7 separate regions of the Homo sapiens genome follow, and regions 1, 3, 4, 5, 6 and 7 are each linked to region 2. The links are contacts of gene promoters, found by promoter capture Hi-C in blood cells and fetal thymus (Javierre and others, 2016). All regions are on one chromosome and are shown on one strand. The core of a region is centred on a gene start or on the middle of the fragment in contact, and the rest is flanking DNA. Distances in the headings are between cores, read along the strand shown. Region 1 overlaps LOC124904475 (a long non-coding RNA gene). Region 2 holds the start of B3GALT2 (beta-1,3-galactosyltransferase 2). Region 3 overlaps LOC124904475 (a long non-coding RNA gene). Region 4 overlaps LOC124904475 (a long non-coding RNA gene). Region 5 overlaps LOC124904475 (a long non-coding RNA gene). Region 6 overlaps LOC124904475 (a long non-coding RNA gene). Region 7 overlaps LOC124904475 (a long non-coding RNA gene).

The links. Contacts are between HindIII fragments. The CHiCAGO score rates a contact against its expected background, and 5 or more counts as called.
Region 1: a fragment that was not itself captured here is called in contact with the fragment with the promoter of B3GALT2 in region 2 in 1 of 17 cell types (naive CD4 T cells); the score reaches 5.2 in naive CD4 T cells.
Region 3: a contact is called between a fragment that was not itself captured here and the fragment with the promoter of B3GALT2 in region 2, in 1 of 17 cell types (non-activated CD4 T cells). The highest score is 5.3, in non-activated CD4 T cells.
Region 4: a fragment that was not itself captured here is called in contact with the fragment with the promoter of B3GALT2 in region 2 in 2 of 17 cell types (non-activated CD4 T cells and total CD4 T cells); the score reaches 5.8 in non-activated CD4 T cells.
Region 5: a fragment that was not itself captured here is called in contact with the fragment with the promoter of B3GALT2 in region 2 in 1 of 17 cell types (naive CD4 T cells); the score reaches 5.9 in naive CD4 T cells.
Region 6: a fragment that was not itself captured here is called in contact with the fragment with the promoter of B3GALT2 in region 2 in 3 of 17 cell types (naive CD8 T cells, non-activated CD4 T cells and naive CD4 T cells); the score reaches 6.9 in naive CD8 T cells.
Region 7: a fragment that was not itself captured here is called in contact with the fragment with the promoter of B3GALT2 in region 2 in 2 of 17 cell types (non-activated CD4 T cells and total CD4 T cells); the score reaches 7.3 in non-activated CD4 T cells.

What each region holds. Positions count from the first base shown.
Region 1 is chr1:193,911,629-193,914,328 of GRCh38, forward strand. All of the region lies in intron 5 of LOC124904475 (a long non-coding RNA gene), which reads left to right. Among named protein-coding and RNA genes, the nearest start is that of LINC01031, 610 kb to the left of the region's middle. The HindIII fragment of the contact is 1,547 bases long and covers 557-2,103 here.
Region 2 is chr1:193,185,337-193,188,036 of GRCh38, forward strand. B3GALT2 (beta-1,3-galactosyltransferase 2) reads right to left here and starts at 1,277. Exons shown (of 2, transcript NM_003783.3): 1 at 683-1,277. The region is part of intron 10 of CDC73 (cell division cycle 73); the gene reads left to right. The HindIII fragment of the contact is 388 bases long and covers 998-1,385 here.
Region 3 is chr1:194,086,263-194,088,962 of GRCh38, forward strand. All of the region lies in intron 5 of LOC124904475 (a long non-coding RNA gene), which reads left to right. Among named protein-coding and RNA genes, the nearest start is that of LINC01031, 780 kb to the left of the region's middle. The HindIII fragment of the contact is 189 bases long and covers 1,282-1,470 here.
Region 4 is chr1:194,118,113-194,120,812 of GRCh38, forward strand. The region is part of intron 5 of LOC124904475 (a long non-coding RNA gene); the gene reads left to right. Among named protein-coding and RNA genes, the nearest start is that of LINC01031, 810 kb to the left of the region's middle. The HindIII fragment of the contact is 1,062 bases long and covers 813-1,874 here.
Region 5 is chr1:194,145,512-194,148,211 of GRCh38, forward strand. The region is part of intron 6 of LOC124904475 (a long non-coding RNA gene); the gene reads left to right. Among named protein-coding and RNA genes, the nearest start is that of LINC01031, 840 kb to the left of the region's middle. The HindIII fragment of the contact is 7,383 bases long and covers 1-2,700 here.
Region 6 is chr1:194,045,635-194,048,334 of GRCh38, forward strand. All of the region lies in intron 5 of LOC124904475 (a long non-coding RNA gene), which reads left to right. Among named protein-coding and RNA genes, the nearest start is that of LINC01031, 740 kb to the left of the region's middle. The HindIII fragment of the contact is 1,019 bases long and covers 799-1,817 here.
Region 7 is chr1:194,169,750-194,172,449 of GRCh38, forward strand. All of the region lies in intron 7 of LOC124904475 (a long non-coding RNA gene), which reads left to right. The region is part of intron 2 of LOC107985242 (a long non-coding RNA gene); the gene reads right to left. Among named protein-coding and RNA genes, the nearest start is that of LINC01031, 870 kb to the left of the region's middle. The HindIII fragment of the contact is 4,453 bases long and covers 1-2,700 here.

The DNA.
Region 1 (2,700 bases), core at 80-2,579, 730 kb after region 2:
ATTGGAAGAGCACATTACCTGGTGATGCAGGGTAGGTCATTATTAAGTGCCCATGTCTCTCTGAGTAAGACAAAGCGAGCATCCTCCCATTGAAATTTACTCAAGAAGGCAGATGTTACACACGACCACGTCTCTGTGCCTTGAGCGAAATCTCATTCTTAGTTAGGGCATCTTCAAACTATTCTTCCAAAAGGTGTTGGAGAAAGAGTCAGTCACTGGATAAATTGGGGAGTTTCTTTGAAGGAGTCTGCAATTTAAAGTGAGCAGAGTATCAACTTTGAAATTAATAGCTTTGGGCTGAATTTCAGAACTCCGGCTTTATGTCAACTGTGAGGGAACTTGGGAAAGATTAAACACTCTGCTTCATATGTATAAAATTAGAATAGTAATCCTAAAGGAAGTAAGGAATATTAAATGAGAATATGTATGTATATGCATGCGAGATATATATGTGTGTGTGTGTTTGTGTGTGTGTGTATGAAATATATTTCTTGGGGGAAAAAAAGAAAGGATTTCTTCCTCTTTTGATTAAAGGGAGCTAGATGGAGTGATCATAAGCTTTCTTTCAGTATGGAAAGTTTGACCCTACCACCCTTAAGTCTGAACATGACCTAAGAAAAAGGTGGATATGATATGATGGAAATCCTTGCTAGAGAGACACAATATGTTGAGAGCTTTTTTCGTTCCAGCCAGGTGGATTCAGGCAAGGGTAATGTAGCAATGTTGAAGGGAAGCAGGAGCCGATAAAGTGACCCACATGATATATCTTTAAGCCAAACCTCTTTGGATGAGGGATGGAAGGTGAAGATATTACATAGCTTGAGGGAAAATTGGAAAGAAAAGGATGATGACTGTACCCTATATAATACACTAGGACAAGTCCATAAACATGCCCGTTGTCATCTTGAGTTTGGTAATATAGCAGTGGTGTCTAGGTAGATGAAACTGATGAGACTGAGATGGTTTTCCTGTGACCTGCATATGTCAGACAGGAGGGGCAGAATTTCTCCATGCACCAGTGACCAGCTACTGCAGTGCTGGAGTCCGTATGAAGAGGCTGCCTTGCTTGACTTTGTGACTAAAGGCAAATGCCAGCCATTATGGGCTTGACTAGAGTGGTCTTCATTCTAGTGAATGACCTACTGTGTGACCACAGTACATTAACTGTCACCATTTCTGGAACTAGACAAGGGCAACCAATTTAACAACAGCCATTGGGATTCCAGAAGACACACAATAATTCAAAAATTCAAGACTCACTTTTTCCCATTACTCAAGGTCATGTAAGTGACCCTTCTGGCATACATTCAGATGCCATGTCTGAGAAGGTGAGGGAGAAGGAAAGCAAGTTGAAAAAAAAGTTATTTATGAAAAGAAGACTTTAAAAAAACAAGCCACTTAAAATAGCACTGAGAATTCGATGAACTTCGAGTAGACTGACTTAGAACATAGAATTTTTAAATGTGCAGATGCTGAGATACTAGTAATTGGCAAGTTTAAGTTTCTTCTCTTCCAAAGGGAAATAATTATGAGAAAAAGGATGATCAGATTATAACTGATCAGATCAGTTATGGAAAAATATAGCTGCTACATTTTCCTTGCTAATCTGAGTAATAGTTTGATTAAATTCTGTCTATGTCTCACATATATCACAATGCTAGACCTATAACAATAAGATATTAATTATTCTACTCTATACCATGCTAAAGGAATCAAATGAAGATATTCTAATAAGAAGCTAAACTACATCCACAACACAGGTCATAAAGTCATGCCATCTTATATATCTTACTTACAGCATTGGTAAGTGTGTAGGGATAAGATTGTATGAGGTGGAGAATAATAATAACATGGGTCTTAACAGTTTCTCTGTAAATTTCAGAATGCCAATGGACCTTCCATACTGACAAGCAATCCTACCATGTTTCTCTGGTTATTTCTTGGGAAAGACATAACTTCTTGTAGAAATAAAGCTGAAATGATATGAATTCTCTGCAACAATCTCTCACCCATTTGCAGAGAGCAGACCTAAAAATAGGGGTACTAGGAAAAGAATCCAAGAAAAATTGGATGCCCTGATGACAACTGTTGAGCTGCTAATAAAGCTTTGTGTAAAGCTAGCTCTGTAATGGGACTTTTCAATCATGTGAAATACTATATTTCATTTATTGATATGCTGGCTTACGTTAGGTATTCTGTCACTTTTCCTGAAGGACATCTGATAATAAAAAAAAAGATCCATGGCCAGAGCAAAGGGTACACAGTGTTGGTTAAGACACCAAAATTAAGTTTAGGTTAAATAGCATTGTCTAATATTCCCCCAAAGGATCCTATGAGGATGGAATCTTGAAGGTAGGGAAAGGAATCATAGGTGGTCTGGACATTAGTCCTGTCCTTTATCATCTCCTTCAGATTTCTGTAAGTTTTAGAGTATATTGAAATTCATAATTTTAAAAGAATAAATGAATCATATTTGAGGAAATTTATGAAAATTAAGCTGCCTGAGTTTCACTCACCTGTTGTACTTTGCCAAAAACATAAAAAACATAAACATCCCCCATTCACACTTAAATATTAATAATGTTTTAATTTACTGTTTACTTTTTATTAAAGTATGTTTTTCTTTCTTAATTCTATTATATTGAATCCTTTTATGTTTGCTTTTTTCCCTAACATGGCCTGCAAAAAGTGCTTGGCTAT
Region 2 (2,700 bases), core at 27-2,526:
ACTATAATAACACGAGGCTCTATTGTGGGGTTATGCATAAACTCACACTACCTTATGTGATCTTATGTTAATGCTTTCCTTTTAGTATCTTCTTGTAGCTTGGTAATATTTAAAATTTGTTGATACTCTCTTTGGTTGTGTTCATTATCTTCATTTAGGGAGATGTTGGGGAAGATTTTGTTACTAAAAGCTGTTACATATTAAGGTTTTGTTTTAAAAGGACTTTGAAAAAAAAACTCTTAAGGTTTTCCTTGCTACTATTTAATGAAATTTCACTGCATTGTGTCTTTTGATAGCCATTTTTAAGAGAGCATTTAATTTACTAGATAAGGATTCAGTTTGACCTAATTTGATAGAATATTGCTGTGTTTTTTGTAAAGGGCTACAGATTTTTTTTTAAGTTTAATTTCTTAAGGAATCCTTTAAACACATCTTCTTCTTATTTGCCTTTTCCCTCTGATGTCTATTACCCAGAATTACTCCAAGCTACATATTTAGCTGCATAAAGCAGTGACAGCTTGTCTTCTAAACAATGACAAATTTTAAAATCAGATATTAAGAAACCTTTTCATAGTTTCAAGGGCAGTGAGCTGTATGAACTTGCTTATCAGGTATTAGTGCCTCCAGGGCTATAAAAAGGTAACACATTTAAATGACTATCATACACAAGATATTGACATACCTTCCTTGGTCAGGCCATTTATGTGAAGAGGATTATGCCCACTGAAAATACTTTTGGCACGCCATCACTTCAGCAAAAAAGATGCTATCGAACATGCGCACATCCCCCAACAGTCTGCCTCCTGCGATTGCTTTTCACAGTATCCAAAGTGTCCATCTGTCTGCTTGTCTTCGAGTTACCCTCCTTGTTCATATGGGTCCTAGTCTTCTGAAATTTTCCCTTTCTTTCATTTTCTCTCTTTCGTTAAACAAAAGAGCTGTAGTTGCCCGTTCTGCTTGTAGCACTGTTGACTCTTCCCGACAGTTGATGCATTGAAGCTTTTTACATCTGCTATTTTCCTGGCTGGACAATGCAGTGCTGTGTTCTCGTCTCAGTATCCATATTTCTACTAATAACACTGAGCTGCAATGTAAAGCAGCCAGAGCTAAAATGTAGTGCTTCAGTTGTATTGGAAAAGAATAGGATTTACCTCTCTTCTTTCGTTGTTGCCTGGCAGCTGCAGGAAGGATTTTGAGCAGTTTTAATGGGGTTTTAGTCTATAATATGAAATCCACGGTTCCTCAGCTGCTGCACAGGCAGGCAGCAGTTTAAATGTGGGCTTGACAGATGCTCTCTCTGACAGAGCAGAATTTAACGTCACTGCTTGGCTGAATCCCACGTGATTGTTTGCATTCATTTTGACTAAAAACCTAAGGTAGGGAGAAGCTTAGAGATTTTGCTTTTATGTGATAAATTATATATGTTGAATGCAAGTGTAGTGATGAGTGAATAATTTGAAAATGTGATGATTATGAAATGGTTATGATTTTATTTTTTCCAGCTTACTTCCTTTTTTAACTTTATTCTTAAGTACAGGCTTTCTAAGTGTTTTCTGTGTTAGATGTTGGTTTTCATGTTTCTTACATGCTTTTGTAGGGTGTAAGCAGTATAAGCTTTTGTGTGTAAGTTGGTGTAATTTAACCCCTTCAGTGCATTCTCTTCTTGAAGTTTTTTTTCTCTGCTTTCAAATTGCTCTTGATTTTTTACTAATATGTAGTTAAGACCTATGGTTTCTATTGAAACCATGTATCTTTGTAATTTAGATCCCCCCCCCCGTTTTCTGGGGTTTGTATAAATAAGCTGTCTTGGATTACTTTACTAATGCATGATGTGATACAGCCCACTTCTTTTTTGCTCTTATGTGGTTTTTGGTGTTCTTGATGGCAGAAAACTTTATTTTAAATCACTTTTTAATGTTGTCATTTATTTTTTATTTATTTTTCCTTCCCTTTAAAATTACATGTATCGTAGAATTCAGTAAAATGATGTAATAGATATAGCACACTTGTACAGGATCTGGGGGTAATGAGATTTTACTAATTATGTTTACTTATTCTAATGTTTCAGAAAGATTTAATAACTTGCCATGAGGCAGATTTTATTAACACTACACACTCACTGAGATTTTTCTAATATGGTTAGTTTCTGGGGCTGGCACCTTCTTTTCTTACTGCAGAGCAGTAGGGAAGGTTTTTTTAAATTTTTTGTTGTAGTAAAAAGCCTTTATTATCAGTTTTTCCTCTGTGACTCTAGGGACAGTAATTCAGTCCTAGAAAGTTATAGTTTTGGAGCTTAAGCTAAAGGTTAACAGTTATATACATATTCTTCATCTCACTGCCTCCACCATTAATATATGCTATTTCAAATGAATATGAATTTGTTTTCTCTGATATTAAAAAAAATTTTGTCCACATATTTTTGAGCTTTGCTGATGAAATGTGCTTTGTAGTTTTAAGAACCCCACTGTATTAGAAATGTTAGAAGGATCGTTAAAGAAAAAAAAGAATTTTATAAATAGGAAACCTAAAGCCTAGACTGAGCTTTGACTTTTCCTAGTTAAGTTTGAAGGAGAGGACTAAAACCCAACTTCCTTGTAGTCTATATCCACCCATACTGCAATTCTCACTCACTACCGTTTTGTTTTTAAAATTAGTTTACTAGTTAACAGAGTAATGCTTAAGAACTTACTTAAAATAACT
Region 3 (2,700 bases), core at 126-2,625, 900 kb after region 2:
TGCCAGCAATACCCTTTTCTTTCCATTATTCTAGAAAAATCTTCACACAACTCAAATACCACCTTTTCCATCTTGTATATTGTTTCAGAAAATTAGTTTTGATATTACTGTTTTAGTTATAACTATAGGTTAATATTGCTTAGAAAGTGTAATTATATGAGAACTTAGAGGTAGCTATCAGTTACCTCTTATAGAAGAGACAGTAAAAAAAAATGCTCAAATTTGAAGTTTGTTTGTTACCACTAGTCAGGTTGTTCAAAGAAAAAACAGATGCCAAAGGGAACTGAATTCAAATGTTCAGTATTCTGGTAAATCAACTCTGAAGACCTACAGCTTTCTTATGGTTCCATCTTTGTGTTGATAACACTACTTGATAGGTGATACTTGTGTGTTGTTGACAGTATGTCAATATTATATTAATTCCCTGAAAAACAAGTTTCATTGAGTAATCGAGGGAAAGGTATACCCATATTTATGCCATAGGGCTATTGTTAGAATTAAATTAGATACAATACAGAAAACATCTAACACTATTCCTGCCTCATACAATGAGTATCCTCAGTGGAAGTCTATTCTCTAGTAAGAAAGTGCCCTTATCCAGAAATCTTTCTCTTTCATTTTCATTATGAGAGAAACTATATTTCTGGACCCAAATCACAATTTTCTTATTACCTATGTTATCTCTGGTAAATAATAACCTACAGAAAAAGTTGTTTTGAGAAGTTGAGAAGTTGCTTGGTAGTCAGAAGATTAAGTGATTCACACATTGTTCTGCCCAGGAAATGATGCATAACATTTATATTAATAATTTTGATGACTATTTATCTGTGTATTTAAATTTATTTCACCTAGCCAGCAGACTTATGAAAAAGTTGAAAATGCAATTGAAAATGCTCTAGTTCATCATTGATAATTGAGCATTGAATCGCACACCTTCTTTTTACCTCTGCCAAGTTCAAAGAGATTGTCCCCACCTTGTACCCTATTTCTGGTACTGTTTACTTGCTCTACATTCCTGTGTCTTTTTCTTGTCTTTGCAGTTTTCTTTCCTGGTTCCTTAGCAACAGCCATCTTGTGCTGAGTCCTGAATCCCATTTCAAGGGTCCTGTTTCTTGCCCAGCACCTTGAATCACTGCATAATTCTGGCTGTCAGATTCTCAGTTGCCTAGTTCAGACTGTTTGAACAAGCCTATTATTGTGAATTGATCTTTTTGATTGTGACTACTCTCTGCATCATTTTTACCTGACTGAGGTGACTTTTGCTTTTCATTTTCAGGGGCAAGCTTAATTCCACTCAGTCTATTATTGTGCACTGGCACATGGATGGATGTGTGTGGACACACACACACGAGTACGCAAATCTGCCTGCATTCCCACCAAGTCTGACCACACAAACTTGTCTTACTTTTTGCACAGTAGCAGATGTCAGTACTTAATATTACTAAATCTAGATCCTTGCAGTGCAATACAAGCTTTTAAAATGCAAGTATGTTTTTTACATAAAGACTCTTTTATATTTACTTATGGAAACTCTTAATTAGAGATAAATGTACATGGTACCTCAGAATCTGGATTCTGGGACAAGGCTTTTCACATTCACATCCCAGCTCTATTACTTACAAGTTGTGATCGCTTAGCTAAATTATATAATTTTTCTGCACCTTAGCTTCATCATCTCTAAAACGAGGATGCTATATCTCTGTCATCATTAAACGAGTTAATGAATGCAAAGTTTAGAATGCTGTCTGGTGCACAATACATTCAATAAGTATAGGGTATTTTATTATTATATATTTATGCAAATGATCTTGCTTAAAACAAATTTTAACCTTGAAAAGATAATTCAGATTGTTATAATTATAGCAATATTTAATCTTTAGTTTTGACATGATCAAACAGCAATAGAGACTTGGAAGTATTACCGCATGGTTCTTGGAATCCAATGGAATTAATAAATTGGCTTCAGGGAGTTTATAAACCAAATTGAGAAAAACAAAGATTATTACATTTATTTCTGCTACTTAGAAACCATCTTTAAAAAATATTTGCAAATATGTTATGAAGTCATTATTTCTTCATGGTGGTACAATATACTATATTAAATGGTTATATAAGTATCATTATAATACCTCTAGAAAATGTGCATTGATAGTTAAAATATGACTAATTTTTAATTTTTTATATTGCACCAATCCCAGTTTATAAAATGTCTAAGAAAGGAGAGAACAAAAAATTGTCTATATTATTTGATTTAACTTTCACCATAGAAGCCACCATTAATCTTGTACAGAAAGACACTAATGAACTCATACTGCAAAAATAATATAAAATGCTAAAATGGACAAATCAAACAAAACAGAGGTAATCGCATAGCAATTACGTTGTTTGCATTCAAAATCCAACTGGGTGGAAACAGTGACCTTCTAGTTTTTAACAATTAGGTGTATATTGATGATGTCAAAGAATTCGCTTTTTAAAAAAAATCTACTGTTGAAATATTAAAAGGCTGTTGACATTTTCAAAATAGTGTCAAGATTCTTTGCTAATCAAATAACAATGGGAAAAGTCATGTACTTTGTAGTGTGATAGACAATTTTTAGTGTCTGCACACATTGAAATTATCTATCTATCTATCTATCTATCTATCTATCTTTCTATCTATCCATCCATCTATCTATCTCTGTATCTATATCTCTGTCT
Region 4 (2,700 bases), core at 94-2,593, 930 kb after region 2:
AGGGATGGAGTGGGAAGGTAGTTTTCCCTTGGAGTGGGCTGCCCCGCGGCTAGGTTCTCCTCCGTCCGACCGGCCCCAGCTAAACTCCGCATCATTCAGCTGGTGGATGGCCTGCTGGCGTCTGCCGGTGCCGGTCGGTGTGCCCTTCCACCGGTATGTTCCTCTCGACGTCCAGCCGCTTGTGTGTTCCTCTGGTGTGTTTCACTCAATGTCCACCCACTCGTGTTTCTACCCACTAGGGCACCGGGGATTTATAGGCACAGGATGGGGGCGTGGAGGGCCAGAGTCGTCTTGGAAAATGGAAGATTTGGGCACGAGAACAGAAATGCCCGTCCTCACCTAGGTCCGAGGGCACAGGCCAAGGGGTGGACCCCTAACCAGGGACCCACTCTTCTCTACCCAGCACTTACCTGGCCCCCTCCCATGTGGCAAAGCTAAGAGAAAAGAAGAAACAAAAATAAAAACAGAAAATGCCCCTGTGACTGGATTGCTTCTCCAGGTTGTGAAGATGGCTATCTCCATGACCCATGAGCCTTTGTTTACTTTTCAGGGTTCTCAGGTGGTTTTTTGTTTTTTTTTTTTGTTTTCTTTGTAATTTATCCAAATTTTAGAATTATAATCAGTAAGTGGGGTGGATCTTAGAAGCTCACATCATCATAGGCAGAATCGGTATTCCCATATGGCATACATTTTTGAAAAGTACATATTTCCTTTCTATAGTGAGATATTGAAGCTATTATCACCTACATTTTGAAAGATAATATGTTTGTAGCAATCTTTAAGTTGCATGTGATCAGTCAGTGGATGGTATAAGCTTCTGAACCTGTACTGGGTTCAGTACTAACTTGAATACACATGGCTATTAATTGCCACCAGTTAGGCTGGTATGCCTTATGGCTGCCCAGCTGTTTGGCAGAAAGTAAGGTTGGGAAATCAACTTTCATGTTTGCTATTTAAAACTACCCATGTCTATTATTTTTGATTTTGAGCAGCTGCTATCCTCAAAATTGAAGAAACACATCTGTCTAAGTAAGCTGCTAGATTTAAACAATAAAAAAGGTTTCTGTTAAACATTTAAAAGATTAAATCTTGTTGCTACAGCTCTATCAGGCACTCTCATCCAACTTTCTTCTTTAACTAGAAAATAATTTTACCCAAATTACATGCACTCTTATGCTTAGTAATTTTTTACTAAGAGAATGCAAAGAACATACAATTATCTATTAATTTGCTAATTTTTAGGTGGTAACTGCCATAGCCACATACATATTAATGTTTAGATTTCATTAAAAAAATGGTTTTATCTTCTTGCTGATGGCAGTAGGTCTGGCATCCTGAACATGGAAGCTGTTGTTAAAACATTTTGAACCAGCAAAATATTTTAAAACACACAGCAGTGATACTTAGTGAATTATTCATGTTCATTCCCAGGATGAAGATGGGGAGAGAATCATGGCATCAATAAATACAGGATATGATTCTATTTTAGTAATCCTCTGAAGATCATCCTGTAAGTTTGCAGCAATTTTCTGATAAATCCTGCCTTTATTTATCTGTTATATCCCTTGTGTTAGGTAAATTGACAAGTAATTGACTTTAGTTTAATGCTATAACACCACACATTGACTTATCTTCTTTCCTTTTTCAGATAAATTCTATCTTCATTTATTTTATAGTTTATTGATGCTCATGCTCTTAAATTTAATATATTATGTATAAACATTTTATAATTTTTGGAATGAAAATGGCACTTGCCATTTTTGTTTCCCAGGATGAGATGATGAAATGGAGGAATTATCTTTTTTTTCTATGAAAGCAACACCATTTTCATTAAAAGAAACTTCTAAAATACAAATGGTTTAAACCTACAAATAAGCTTTAGAGTAAACTGCAAAAAGAGAGAAATGAAATGAAGATGGAATATATAACTAAAAAGGAAGCACAACTTAAAGAATTGGAAAATTCTCAGCTTAGTCATGTAAAGAATTAAGTCATATTTGGAAGAGAATACAAAAGGTGTGGACAAATAAAGTGTAATAAGGAGATTAGTATGGACAGAAGGAAGCCAGATGCTATCCATCAAGACAATGAAAGAATAACCTCAAGGACATTTTTTAAATCATTGAGGCTGCCACTTCCATCGGCTCAGAATGCCAAGGCTTTGAGGGCAAAACAGTTTCAAGGAAGGGGAATAAGGCACACCTGGAACTGCAGGGCTGATTTCTCAGGGCCACCTCAAGTCTCTGTTCCCTAAATTGTGTTGCAGCACTTGCCACCCCAGCTGTGGCTCAAGTTAGCCCAGGCATGGCTTAGGCTGCCCTTCTCAAAGGCAGTACAAGTAGTAAACCTTGGCAGTGTCCATGTGGTGATAACCTTGCATATTAGCAGAGTGCGAGAGCTGTGGAGGCACGACTACCTCCATTTAGATTTCAGATGATGTCTCAGAGAGTCTTGGGACCCAGGCACAGAACTGCCACAGGAACATGGCTGGTGCAGAGTCCCCACTAGGGCAATGCCTAGTGAAGCCATGAGGACAGCTTCACCACTAAGACCTCAGAACTGTACAACCACCAAAATGGAACTCCAGCCTGGGAGAGTGACAGACACTAGACTTCAACCCTGGAGAGCTCTGGTGTGGGCTTTGCCCCACAAAGCTATGAAGGCAGGATCCCCTGGAGCCCTGGAGATCTAACCACCATG
Region 5 (2,700 bases), core at 31-2,530, 960 kb after region 2:
ATACTCATATGACATGCAATCTAAATTAGTACCTCAATTAATCACTGGGGTAATGCAGAACTATTACCTTTTTTTCACACAAGGATGCATCATTAAAAACAGCCTCAATTTTCTTTTTTGATGTCTCACATGATTAATTGCAGTCTTGTGACTTGAAAAGGCAAATTATTTGCTGTTATGGAAATTGACATTTCTGGAGTTTTAAGGCTGTGCTCTTGCCCTTCATCTGGAAATTCTTCAGTTCAATAACATAAACTAAGAGTAGCTTTCAAAGAGGCCTTTCCTCCCTACTAAACATGTTTTACATCCAAACAGCGCTTGTTTCTGAAAGTAATATTTTCATTATGTGAGATTTCAAGTTATAAATGTATTTTTATCTTATCATGTACCAGAATGGAGTTAAAGTAAAGCTAATATTAAATGAAGAGAGTCTTCATGTTCAAAATGAATAATACTACCTCCTCAATTTAACAACACTTTGAAATTATCAAATACTATTCTAACTTATTGAATGGTAAGATATTTTGTTCCAGGCCTATGAAATAAGTTTAACTTTGGGGGAAATAAATAAAATACATTTTCTTAAATTTTAAATATCTGCTATTCAATTTAAACCAGTAAATTATAACAGGCTTGAAACACAATTATGATTCCTTTGGTTACTTCTATTTTCAGTATGCATTGCTTGAATTTGACAGCTGATGCTATTTTACCATTTAAAGAAAGGTTATGTATAAAGTCCTTCTGCTGTTTATAAACCATTTGTTTTTATTACTCAATGGCAAATAATTACTTATTATGCCAAAATCAGTGCCGATGTTTTATATTAGTTTTGTCTGAGTTAGCTACAAATCATGAGTAAATATATGGAAACATCATTCAAGAAAATTGATCAGAATGAAAGTATCATTCTGCTTACCATATTTAGACGTATGTGACCAACACATAAATAAAGATATCAGCTGCAGGAACCCACAAGAAAAATATTTTTAATTCTGACTTCAGCAAACAGAGGGGCACCTGAAAGTGTTAGACCAGAAGATACCACTGAGGAAGGAATGTTTAAAGTGGAATGATACATTTCCAACAGAACATAAACAACAAAATACTTAATATGCAGTCCAGACTGAAATGTGTAATGAAAATAGTTGGATATTAAAGAATTCAAGAGTGAGAGGCATCAGCAAGGAGGACCTCCTCCTTATTATTGAGGTAAGATAAATTTGTTTTTTATCAAAATAAATTATCACTAAGCAAAGCAGAGAAAACAATCTGTGATCCACTGCAGCCAGCAAAAGGCTTCCACAATTAGAAAAATATGAAAATGATGCATGCAAGTTAGATGGGTTCACTAAATGACAAAACATATCTCAGGGGAGAAAAATAAAGATGAGGAAATATTCATTTTTACACAGGGACGTTATCAATTTTTGATAAAGAGGCCACACTTGGAGACAATATGTAACAATTTTGGTTGCAGGTGGAGACTGGCATTCACCTGCCAACATCCAAATCCATGCTTATCCACTTACAGTCCTGAGATTTTTTTCTAGTAAGTCCAGTGTATATATAAGACACTTTTTCTTTGTAAAATAGGGTCACATATGTCTAAGTTATGTGTGTACCATGAATCTGAGAGGATATATACCTAGCCCATATTATATACCCAGATTCTGACATATGTTAGGCATTCAATGAATATTTGTTCAGTGAAAAATAAATGGGTTATATTTGTAAGTTTTCAGTAAATAATTTTATATTTATACCTATGAATTTTAGTTGTTCTACGTATTTGTCCTTTTGTTCCCAAATTCACTTAAGTAATCTATTAATCTATCATACCATTCCAGTCTTAGCTCCCATTTTGTATATATATAGAATGTCTACTCATAATTCCTTGAATATACTTTACACTGTTAGTTTTTGCTTTAGCTCAACAAAAATGTCCTCCTTTCTTCTCATTCTGCCTAAAAATTTCTATTTATCTTTCAAATAAAATCTCACATACTTTTCCAACTGTCACTGAACACTTACTTTTCAATAATGATAATCATAATACTAAGATTGGATATGAAAGCATTTTAACATACAGTACATTCCTCTTAGTTCACATTACTTCTAATCATCATCTTCTTTAAGAAAAATCAGTAATGTGAAGTATGTGCTGAAAACAGAATTTCCTGTTTGTTTGTATTTGTTCTTGGTATTTTCTTCCATAGCATTTACTGCCATATGATATTAGATACATATTTTTTTCTAGTATTTATTTTTGCCTCCCACCCTGTCCTGTAAGTTCCAACAGGATAGAAATCTTGTATTGTTTACTCCAAATGCTTAGAAAAAGTGCCTGACACATTCCCAACATACAGCAAATACTTAATAAAAAATGGTCTGAACATTCCTGCCTGAAGAGCCTGTGTTTCATGAATGAGATCCTTAAATGCAATTAGATGCTTAAATATTGCCACACTGTGTTTGCAATGGGGACCTAACTGTTATCATATCCACTGTTACTGCTGATGTAGGACATAATTCATTCTTTCAGTAACCACCCTTTTTAAAAAAAGAAAGTCTAGAGTGAAATATTATTACATTATAAAACCACTTGATTCTAGAGGTAAAATGGAATCTGGTTTTATGCCACAATGTTTGACTCTTTAAACCTGTAAAGTGAGAGTCATTCATATATTATTCATATTG
Region 6 (2,700 bases), core at 58-2,557, 860 kb after region 2:
GCAGTGTCATAGCATTCCAGTTAATCCGTGGTGGAAGATGAGTTGGAAAAAGGCTTCTTCCTAGAACCACTGATAATAAAACTCCAATTCTCTCAGCATTTCTCATTTCTCTTTCCTGAATCCTAAAGTACAATAAGTCAACTCAAAAGCAAGAAAGCAAACAAATAGATAATACAGGCACATAGAAAAGAGATCCAAGTAAATAGACTATAGTCAGGTATGAATGGCTATGAGCAGAGAGTTAAATAAAAAACACAAGAACAAAACATTTTATGATGCTCTAATATGTAAAAGGCACAACACTAGCTTTCCGAAGAGAAAAGACTTAAGCAGTAAATGAAAGAAAATCCCATTTTAAAATTCTTGACATGGATTGTCTGTGTTTTGAAGTTGAGGTATAAATTCTAAAGCTGGATTGTCAGGTTACTTGAAGAAGACAAAATAGACAAAAATTGGTTGAAATCCATTTAAGCAATATGAGCAATTGTGTTGGAAGAATACTTCCTATCTTTTGATCAAACAAAAATAGCCTTATTACTCTCAAAATAGTATGCTATGGAGTTCTCCAAGGTTTATTTTTGAAAAAGATTTATAAAGAATGAAAGAAGATAAAACTCCATTATGTCTAAGGTCTTTCAGCTCAAAAAATAAGGTGTCATTTTTTAAACTAATGTAGAAAGGTATTGTTGAAACTGAAGATGAGAGAGGCTAATTCTGTATATGGAAGAGTGTTGAACAACAACCATAACATACAGTCTGTGCATATTTGAATGTTCTGAGAGAATGTACTGTAACCTAAGCTTACTAAACAGATTTAGTAGAGGGCTCAAAATACCTGAGCATACATTTACAATAAGAAAGTCCAACTGTAAAATCTTTTTACTTAGAAAAGTTTTCGACATGAATTGGTTACAGTTTCTCCCTCTTTTTAAAAAAAAATTGTTTAAGAAATCAAGTATTATTCAAAACAAGAAGTCATAAATTTCTTATAATATTTCTTAAAATAATTTATCCATTTTATTCTTTTGCGGCTTATGGATAAACACTATGACCTATTAAATACTCAACTTGAGTGTCTTAGTTCTTTAGGGCTGTTATAACAAATTGCCATAGGCTGGGTGACTTATAAACAATAAAAATTTATTTCTCACAGTTCTGGAGGCTGGAAGTCTGAGATCAGGGTGCAAATACGACTGGGTGTTGTGAGGGCTCTGTTCTGGGTTGCAGACTGATAATTTCTCCCTGTGCCCTTACATAGAAGAAGGGTCAAGAGTTTTTCTGTCATACCTTTTATAAGGAAATTAATCCCATTAGTGAGCCTTCATGACCTAATGATTTCCCAAAGGCTGTATCTCCTAATACCATCACCTTGGAGGTTAAAATTTCAACATAGTATAAGATGACACAAATATTCAGACATAGCAGAGAGTAGATGATGTTATGTTACCCAAACACCAAAGGTTCAGTCTGGGTCCTGCTGCTCACCGCACAGAAAGCCAATGACTGAGATGAGTATTGCCAAGGAATAAGGCTTTAATCAGGTACTGCAGATGAGGAGATGGAAGATCAGTCTCAAATCCATCTCCCTGACCAACAAAGATGAAGGGTTTATATAGCATGGAAGAAATTAACTGTGTGTGGGAAAACAGAAACAGGAGGGGTAAGGAAGCAACCATGATAAATGAGTGGCCTGGCCACATATTGCCAGGATGTAATGATCTAGTGAGTTTTAGTTCTTTGATACTTGATACTCTTTTTGAGAGGCGTGGGAGTCCTTTCTTGAGGAAATAACTCAGGTGAAACAAATATAAACGTCAAGCTTTATGACCAGAAAGGTCAACTTCTATGTTTACAAAAATAAAAAATAAAAACAAAACAAAAACTGTGTGTGGGACTATTGGATCGATTTCAGTTTCACAAACACCAATTCCAACTTTTGAGTAAAAGTAAAAATAAACACATAGAAATTGCAATATCAAGCATTCTGCATTTTTTGTTTGTTTGTTTTTTTAGACAGAGTCTCACTTTGTCACCCAGGCTGGAGTGCAATGGCATGATTTTGACTCACTGCAGCCTCTGTCTCCCGGGTTCAAGCAATTCTCCTGCCTCAGCCTCCCAAGTAGCTGGGATTACAGGCATGCACCACCATGCCTGGCTAATTTTTGTATTTTTAGTAGAGACAGGGTCTCACCATGTTGGCCAGGCTGGTCTTGAACTCCTGATCTCAAATGATCTGCCTGCCTCGGCTTCCCAAATTGCTGGGATTACAGGCGTGAGCCACCGCTCCCGGCCCTGAATTTTCTTATAGGTAAAGTAAGTGCGTGAAATATGTATGTGAGTGTTATGGCTAATGAAGTAAGAAATAATGATGACAAGAGCAGAAAAAGAAATAAAATAGTGATAGAGAAAATCAACAGTTAAAAACAGAAGAAGGAAGAGAGATACTAGGAGACAAGAGGAGAAGGCAGCCTAGGAGAGTGGGGGAGAACCACAATAAGAGGTAGGAGGTAGAGGAGGAGGAGGTGAGAGAGTAAGTAGAGGAATGTGCTTTAGGAGATTATATGTGGGTTGTAGAACAGTCAGCGATGGAATATAAAAGTATTCCATAGGTAGTTTAAAGTATTAATTCTCCTTTATAAATGGGATAGTAGGTAAGCAAGTGTTCATTTTATTATTACAATTTATAACTCATTATTATAG
Region 7 (2,700 bases), core at 174-2,673, 980 kb after region 2:
GTTTTCAAATGTAGGTGTCCATCAGAATCACTTGGAGGGCTAATTAACACTGGACCCTACCCCAAAGTGTCTGATGGAGTAGATTCAGGACATCACCCGAGAATCTGGCGGTATTAAGTGTTTTCCTGGTGATAGTAATACTGCTGGCCAGAGGACAGCACTTTTATTTTTTCATTTTTTTCTTATTTTTTATTTTTATAGATACAGGAGATACATGTGCAGGTTTGTTATACGGATATATTGCCTAGTGGCGGGGTTTGGGTTTCTAGTGTATCTATCACTCAAATAGAAAATATTCTACCCAATAGGTAATTTTTTTAACCCTGACCCTCCTACCACCTTCCCCCCTTTTGGCAGCCCCAGTGTCTATTATTTCCTTCTGTATGTCCATATATACTCATTGTTTAGCTTTCACTTATAAGTGAGAACATTAAGTTTTTTATTTTCTGTTTCTGAGTTATTTCACTTAGGATAATAACCTGCAACTCCACCAATTTTGCTGCAAAAGACATTATTTTTATATAACTGTGTAGTATTCCAGGGTGTATATATACCACATTTTTAATCTAATCATTCACTTCTAGACACATAGGTTGACTTTACTGCTGTGAATCGTGCTGCAACAAATATGCAAGTGCAGATGTCTTTTTGGTATAACAATTTCTTTTCCTTTGAGTAGACGCCCAGAAGTGGGATTCCTGGGTCAAATAATAGTTCTATTTCTAGTTCTTTGTGAAATCTCCATACTGTTTTCCATAGATGTTGTACTAATTTATGATCTCAAAAAGAGTATATGAACATTACCTTTTCTTCACATCTGTTGTTTTTGACTTTTTAATAATAGCCATTCTGACTAGAGTGAGATTGTATCTCACTGTGTTTTTAATTTGCATTGCATTTCTCTGGTAATTAGTAGTGTTGATTTTTTTCATATGTTCGTGGGCCACTTGCATGTCTTTTTTAGAGAACTGTCTGTTCATGTTCTTTGCCCAGTTTTGAATGTAGTAATTTTCTTGTGTGTGTGTTGTTGTTGTTAAGTTCCTGTAGATTCTGATATTGGTCCTTTGTCATATGCATAGTTTGCAAATATCTTCTCCCATTCTGTAGGTTGTCGTTTACTCTGTTGGTTATTTCTTTTGCTGTGCAGAAGTTTTTAGTTAAAGTAAGTCTCATTTGTTTATTTTTTTTGTTTCAGTTGCATTTGCTTTTGAAGCCTTAGTCACAAGTTACTTGCCTAGGCCAATGTCCGGAAGAGTTTGTACTAGGTTCTCTTCTAGAATGTTTATAGTTTTGGGGCTTACATTTAAGTCTTTAATCAATTTTGAGTTAATTTTTGTATATGCTGATTTATAGGGATCCAGTTTCTTTCTTCGACATATCATTAGCCAGTTTGTCCAGCACCATTTATTGAAGGGGGAGTCCTTTTCCCATTGTGCATTTTTGTCAACTTTATCAAAGATCTGTTGGTTGTAGGCATGTGGCTTCATTTCTGATCAGTGCATCTATTTTTGTACAAGTCCCATGTTATTTTGATTACCATAGCCTTGTGGTATAATTTGAAGTTAGGTAATATGAGACCTCTAGCTTTGCTCTCTCTTTGCTTAGGTTTGCTTTGTCTATTCCGGCTCATTTTTGGTTCCATATTAATTTTAGAATTATTTTTCTAATTCTGTGGAAAACGACATTGGTAATTTGATAGGAGTTGCATTGGATCTCTGCATATTGCTTTTGGCAGTGTGGTCACTTTAATGATGTTTATACTTCCAATCCATTAACATGGGATGTTTTTCTGTTTTCTTTCCTTTCCTTTTCTTTTCTTTCTTTCTTTTTTTTTTTTTTTTAACAAGGTCATACACTGTTGCCCAGGCTGGAGTGCAGTGGCATGATCATGTCTCACTGCAGCCTCAACCTCTCAGGCTCAAATGCTCCAATCACCTCAGCATCCTGAGTAGCTAGAATCACAGGTATGTATCACCACACCTGGATAATTTTTAAAATTTTTAATAGAGATATCTCACTATGTAGAGGATGTCAGTACGTTGCTCAGGCTTGTCTCAGACTCTTGGGATCAAGCGATCCTCCTGCCTCAACCTTCCAACGTGTTGGGATTGCAGGCGTGAGCCTCATGCCTGGCATTTTTCCATTTGTTTGTGTCATCTATGATTTATTGTAGTGATTTGTAGTTCTTGTCCTAGGGATCTTTTGCCTCCTTGGTTAACTGTTTTCCTGGGTATTTTATTTTCGTGTGTGTCTATTGTAAATGTGATTATTGATTTAGTTTTCAGTCTGAACTTTATTGGCATATAGTAATGCTACTGTTATTTTGTTGTGTCTATTGTAAATGTGATTGGGTTATTGATTTAGTTTTCAGCTTGAACATTATTGGTATATAGAAATGCTACTGATTTTTGTACATTGTTTTCGTATCCTGAAACTTTACTGAAGTCATTTATAAAGTCTAAGAGTCTTTTGGAGAAGTCTTTGGGGTTTTCTAGATATAAGATTATGTCATCAGGGAAGAAAGATAATTTGACTTTCTCTTTCATAATGTGGTAGCTTTTATTTATTTGTCTTCCTTTATTCCTCTGGCTAGGCCTAAGGACTGCATTTTTAGGACCACTAGTCAAAATTATTCTCTTCAAATTTACAGGAGAGCAAAAAACACACAGAATTTGTTTAATATGCTAATCCCATAGCTTT